2 separate regions of the Homo sapiens genome follow, and region 2 is linked to region 1. The links are contacts of gene promoters, found by promoter capture Hi-C in human tissues and cell types (Jung and others, 2019). All regions are on one chromosome and are shown on one strand. The core of a region is centred on a gene start or on the middle of the fragment in contact, and the rest is flanking DNA. Distances in the headings are between cores, read along the strand shown.

What was found. The method cuts DNA at HindIII sites, captures the fragments that hold promoters and counts their contacts. A contact is called where the count stands out against the background at its distance.
Region 2: a fragment that was not itself captured here is called in contact with the fragment with the promoter of FST in region 1 in 1 of the 25 tissues and cell types used here (spleen).

The regions. Positions count from the first base shown.
Region 1 is chr5:53,478,912-53,482,215 of GRCh38, forward strand. It overlaps FST (follistatin), which reads left to right and starts at 1,718. Exons shown (of 6, transcript NM_013409.3): 1 at 1,718-1,965. The coding sequence starts at 1,881. RefSeq lists an enhancer at 2,951-3,020. The HindIII fragment of the contact is 11,038 bases long and covers 1-3,304 here.
Region 2 is chr5:53,784,105-53,787,408 of GRCh38, forward strand. LINC02105 (long intergenic non-protein coding RNA 2105) reads right to left here. Exons shown (of 4, transcript NR_147168.1): 2 at 976-1,040; 3 at 1-26. Among named protein-coding and RNA genes, the nearest start is that of LINC02105, 34 kb to the right of the region's middle. The HindIII fragment of the contact is 6,838 bases long and covers 1-3,304 here.

The DNA of each region.
Region 1 (3,304 bases), core at 468-2,967:
GCGCGCGGTGCAGGTGCGGCGGCCGCGGGGCTTTGTGATTCATGCCCACTTTCAAAGGGGGGCTTGGGCCCGTCTGAGAGGCACCCAAACAACTGTCTTCTAATATTAGCACGGCTGTATTTCGGGATCTATTATAGTCTGTCCAGACAGATCCCATTGTAATGGGATCTTTTATTAAAAGATTAGCACTATCTCCTGCAGTTGGTGGAAAAAAATCTGTTATCACTGAGTTATTTGCAGTTGTGGAGGGGGGAAGGTTGACGGAAGATGGGGGGTGGGAGGGCTAGAGGAGGACTGGGGGAGGGTCTGGCGGGGGGAGGGCAGTTGCAGGGGGGGAAGAAGGGCAGATTTGAAATTCGTAGAACAAATCCCAGTGACCTGCGAATGTCCAAGAATTTTGTCTGCATACTTCGCTATCTGTTGTCCTTCGGGCTTCAGATGCGAAAAGAACAAATTTAAAAGGCAGCTTTGGAATAAACAATATAGCATTTTCCGTGAAGTAATCGTTTTATATAAAAGGAAATATCGCCTCCTCAGTTTCATTCAGCGGTGCCAAAAATGTTATAAATGAGAGACCCGCCAACTTTCAGCGAAGAATGCCAGGCACTGTACTTAATAAACTGAGGCTACAGAAGTTCATTATGGATGTTGCAATCTTTTTTATTCCGCGAAAAGAGAGAAGACGAGACAGAAAGAGAGAGAGATTGGAGCCGAGGAGACTGAGAGACAGACAGAGGCACACAGGACAGAAACTGGGGAGTCTCCAGGCGGGAGAGGAAGGGGGGGCCAGACCGCCTACGTCGGCGCCCCCGCTCCGGGCTCCGACTCCAGACGCCGCGAAGTGAAAGGGGAGAAAAGAAAGGGAGAGGGCGAGGCTGTGCCGCGGGGAGACCGGGCCTGAGGTGTTAAACATTTTTGTTTGCTTCCGACTAGTCCAGACGAAGGGCCGCGTCTCGGTAGCGCTCTGCCAGGGTGGAAGGTGCCGGGGCCGGGGTTCCTAGCAACACCTCTGGGCTGGGGGTGGCTGCAAAGTCAGGCACTCACAGACCCAGACACAAAACCTCGCGGGTCCCGCGCCCAGGCTGCGGGTGCCCGGAACCGCCGCGAGGCCGGCGCGCTCCGACCCGACCCGGGGCGGGATATTTGGGCAGCCCGGGGCTCTTCGGCCGTTTGCAAAAGTCTCTTTGGAGCGGAGGAGAGGCAGCACGGAGACAAACTCCCGGGTTCCCCCCGCCACCGCCTCCAGCGCCCCCACCGCGCCCTCCCTCTCACACTCGCGCGCGCGCGCACACACACTCACACACACACTCACACACACACCCGCCACCCCGGGCGCGCCGGCGCTGCCGGCGAGCGGCGGCGAGCAGGACTTGAAGTGGGTGTTCTTCCCCACTCCCCACCCCCGACGCGTAGCCCCCAACCCCCGCCCCGGTCGCCTTCCCCCTCCCTCTCGCTCCTACGCAAATAAGAACTCGACGATTCCCTTCCAGCCGTTTTGATTTCGGGCACCTCCGAAAGATAATTGGGAAGGGTTTCCAGAAGGTGGGAAATGTCACCTGATTCACACTGAACTTTTGAAAGCTCCCCACCCCCAAGGAGCCGCGCACACCCTCGCTCGCGGCCGCCCTCCCACAGCCCCACACACTGGGAGACCGCCCACCGCAAACCGCGGAGACCCCCGTCTAGATTTAAAGCGCGGCTGCGCCCGGCTTCTGACGTCCATTGAATCGCGCGGGCGGCCGGCGGCGAGCGCGGGGCTGCGCCGGGATCGCTGCGCCCTCCGCCGCTGGCCTCTGCGACGCGCGCCGCTCGCCCGAGCCACCCGCCGCCGCGCCGGCTCCCCGCGCCGCTGCGCTCCTCGCCCCGCGCCTGCCCCCAGGATGGTCCGCGCGAGGCACCAGCCGGGTGGGCTTTGCCTCCTGCTGCTGCTGCTCTGCCAGTTCATGGAGGACCGCAGTGCCCAGGGTAAGCGAGTGGGGATGCGCTGGGGAGGCTTGGCTGAGGACAGGGGGGTCGACTTTTCTGTGGTCTCCACTTGGTCTGTTCTGAGCAACGCTGCTCTCGGAAGATGTTGAACCAACTTGGGGACTCCGGGATGGAGAGGAGTGGGAAAATTGTAGGCAATGACACTTTAGGACTGGGAACTGAGTTTGGAGCTCGGTTATCTTGAAAAAGGAAAGGGAGCGAGCTGGGGTCTTAGTAGTTAGGGTTAAATGCTCCAAGTTCTGGCCATGATAACTTTAGATGTGATCTCCTCTGTTTGGCTCTGAAGAAGGGAACAAGTATCAGTAGTAGCCTGGAGATTTCAGTCGACCCATTTGCAGTCTCATCTCTCTCCCTCCCACATCTTTTGGATACTTAAAAAAAAAAAAGGAAAGAAAGAAAAGAAAACCTGGGGGTTTGGGGGAGAGATACTGAATTTTATTTGGTGGCTGGGGGACGTGGTTTCAGAAACTTTGCCCAAACTTGGAAATGTGGGTGCTGAAGATTTTCAAGGGAAGTAGCTTTCTGCCTAGTGGATGCTTCTTCCAACCCCATCCCCCATTCTCGCAAAAAAAAAAAAAAAAAAAAAAAAGCCAAATTATTACCCCAAAGTGCTTTGAGCACTTTACAGTTTTTTTCCCCTCTGCCTCATTCTTCTTTCTGACCCTTAGCTTTCTGTAAAACAGTGAGCAGCCCATAACTGACTTAAATTCTGAAATGGGTTAAGAGCAAATTTCTGAAGCTTGCCTTTTAAAAATAGATTTGTTTATTTCAATTAGTCTTTGGGCAGAATGTTTAAAATAATAATAGCAGCTTGCGATCCAATGATTGTTAAAGTCATATTGGTGATTCATGAGAAGTCTTCTCGACCCAAATCCGAACATTAAAAAGGGGGAAGAGGGAGAAATCACTTGCAAATATTTCTTGCTAGGTATGAGATAGGTACTTATAACCGTGAAATGGTAGGAAGACTCCCCCCTCCCCCCACCTTAAGGCATTACTTTCCCTGCTTCAGCGTTAACATTTTAAGTATGTTGTAAACTGCCCTCCTGGGCACTGCCCCTCGCCGTCTGCATGGCACTGCGCTGGGTTGCCCGCCTTTAGAGGAGAGGCTCTGCCTGGTGCCCGGACGTGGGCGCGGAGGAAAGCAGCCCTCGGAGATTTCGAAAGATCGCGGTGGCCGCGGGCGTGCTCCGGTCTGGCGGATTGCAAAACGGGCCCGTCGGGCTGGCTGCGCCTGGAGGCCGCGCGGGGTAGCTCCGGGCTGGGCCGGGTTGCTTTTTTGCTTTCATTTTTCAGAAGTGCCTTTTGCTTGATCTGT
Region 2 (3,304 bases), core at 465-2,964, 310 kb after region 1:
TGAGCTCTTGCCCAGGTCATCACCTGCTTCCAAAGGGATTTAAAATGAGGCATGGGGAAAGGACCGTTACAAATTCGCACTTCATTCTCTTTATTTACACCTTCTTTCTTCTTTTCTCTCATCTTTCCCTGTGTTCTCTCCCTCTAGCTTTCCCTCTCTCTTTCCACACACTGTGTCAGGTAGGTGAAGCTTCCAGACTACTAGGGGAACACCTGTTTCCTTAGCTGTCCCACGGTCACCCCTAAAGCCATCTCTTCTCAAGGGCAGCTGATCTCTGGGGTCTGTGTGGCACAGCCTCCAGGGAGTGGACCAGCCATGAACTTGTAAGGAAGAAAGACCCCGCCTTCTGCTCCCAGCTTCCTCCAGTATTGAAAAGCAGTGGAGCCAGTGAAGATCTGTTCCTGGCCGTGAAAAGAATCCCCTATATCCTAAGAGATCAGCTCAGCAATGAAGGGGTTACTCTCCTTGGTGTGGGGGTGGGGGGTGTAGAAAGTTGCGGGACACTCTTCTCAGCTTGTCTGATGGAGATGCGACCTGGCACCACTGAAAAGCTTTAAGATTAATGGAGAAAAGGCGAAATCTGACAGCTTTTCCACTGGTTTCAATCCTCCTGGGTGGGCCGATTGGTCTTGAATGTCACTAGCTACTTAATCTTGTGTATCTGAAACAGACTGGCGTGTTTGGGGAGCCCTGTTTGCTCTGTATAGACATCAATTGGAGAGGCAGATAAAAGGAAACTGCATTGAATTTCTCCTTTAAGCCTTTCACCAGGCACTTTCTGACTGCAAAATAATTAGTGACCCTGGCAGACACAACCATCCTGTGGTAGATGCTCCAGCTACACCCCTGGTGCGACTCTGACTTCCCTGGACAAGCTGCTCCTGCTCTGTTCAGTGCAGACTCATGGTGCCTATATATTCTTCCTGCTCACCAACTTTTTTTTTTTTTTTTTTTTAACTGCATGGTCTTGCTTACCATTCTGAACCATGGATGCCTGCTTGATCTGATGGCTGAGCAAAGGGATCTCCAGAGACACAGATCTACAAGCACAAATGTGGACAGGGAAATAGAAAGACAAAATAAATAAATAAATAAATCCCTAAATGTACCCATTTACCTGCATATATGTCTCAAACAAATAGGGTTGAGCTATTTTTTAATAACCAAAACATCTACCCAGGAATGGAAATTTAAAAATCAAATGATGCTTTCTATATCCTGTTTTTTCAAACTGAATACATAAAAGAAGCCATTCAGGTTAAGTGTCAAGCATTAAAAGAGAAAGAATAAATACAACAGTGTTTGCAGAGGAGGTTACAATAGATTGGCTCCTTATATTTAAAAGATAGGAATGTTTGGTGATTACTGTGTGAAATAACTCTGTCTAGTCTGGTTTGCTCTGGTGTGAGAAGTCTCTGATGTGTTTTACACACACATAGTGGTTTATGAAGAACCTGTCATAAACCTAAACGATAGCACCAATTAGAAATGAGCTTCCATTGATATATTTCAGATCATTTGCCCTTACCCTTTTCTGACTTTCTGATTCTTTAAACTCATGAACATGGTTGAGTGTATCATCGGGTGATGAATAGCTAGAGATGACTGAGGCCAACAGACTATATATTAATCGTCCTTAGCCTAGCATCTGGGAATCCATAAAACTCTCTGTACTTTCAAACACAAGAGAAAGCCACATTCTCTGATGTCTGAAACTTGCCACTTACAAGCACACACAGGTCTATGCAGGGCATCTTCCTGCAATGTGCTTTTGGCTATTACGAAAACTTTCTTTAAGGCAGAACACTTTCCAGTAAACATATACAAAATTCATCATAAACCAGACTAATTCTTCTGTCTACCAAAGGGAGATGGAAGACATAAACTAAGTCCAACACCACAGCAAGGTATCACAGGTCTCTATTATAACTTTGAAATAGCACCAGATATCTGGCTGTTTTTAAATTGCCAGTTTCTCCTCTGTGGTCAAGGACGTCTGCCAAAAAGAAGATACAGGAAGTTACTGATGGGCCGTAAAATGGAAAATGAAGTGAAAAATTAGTCTTCACTATACCAAAGCAACCTCATTTCAATTATCATTGCAAATATAGGTTATACTTTATTTTGTGACTTACTTTCTCTCTTAAAGATACAGCATCACATTGTTGAGACCGCCACTGCAAAATTATAATTGAGGCAGTGAAAGAGATCTGAACTAACCAACTCTACCTTGCTTCTAAACTCCAAGCTGTCATTGTTCATTCCTGGCTATAGGCCAAACTAACTCTGGGAGAAACTTAGTTTAGGTTTAGCTTTGAAACAAAGATGTTAACAGCCCTTTCCCAAAACAAACCCCCTTTCTGCCTGAGGACTAGACTGCCTTTGCAGGACTAACAAATTAGCTAAAAGATTAGAAATTATGATTTAGGAGTCACGCAGCTGGAGGCTACAAAATTCTGAATCTCCCCAAATTGCTCCTGGGGATAATATCACTATTGTAAAACTTAAGATCAGTGCTTGAGATATTTTGCAGACCCTGCACTTGATGGATCAACTGGCACCACACAGACTGATAAACTGGCTCATCTGGTCTTGTGACCCTGACCCAGGAACTGACTCAGTGCAAGAGGACAGCTTCAACTCCTTATGAGTTCATCTCAGACCTGACCAATCAGAATTCCCGATTCACTGACCCACCTACTCACCAAATTATCCTGAAAAACTCTGATCCCCAAGTTCTCAGTAAGACTGACTTGAGTAATAATAAAACTCCAGTCTCCCGCACAGCTTGCTCTGTGAATTACTCTTTCTCTTTTGCAATTCCCCTGTCTTCATAAATCAGCTCTCTCTAGGCAGCAGGCAAGGTGAACATGTTGGGCGGTTACATTATGTCAAAGCCTAAGACTAGAGTTGACTGAAGTGATGTTGAGGAGATTGAAGCCAGTCTGCATGGCAGGAGAGAGGAGATGCTTCTCCATTTCTACCAAATGTGACTGGCTGTGCTCTCAGGGGACTACGAAGTAGTTGGCCAGAGAGCATACTGAGTACAGATTTCATGAACAGGTAGGTACTGGGTATATGTTTCATGAACATCAAGAAGTACAAGAGAAGGAAGGAAACTCATACAAATACAAGGAACTAAAATGGGAGAGACTACTAGACAGAAAGGGTCATTTTTCCTGGGAATTGGCTGTGGACATTTTTCAACCTTGTTTGAGATATCTGAAACAATGCCTCTCCTCTTCCAGGTTAAAAAAAGAAAAGAAAATATGTGTAGCTATAAACAAAAAACAGGTGAGTGCAC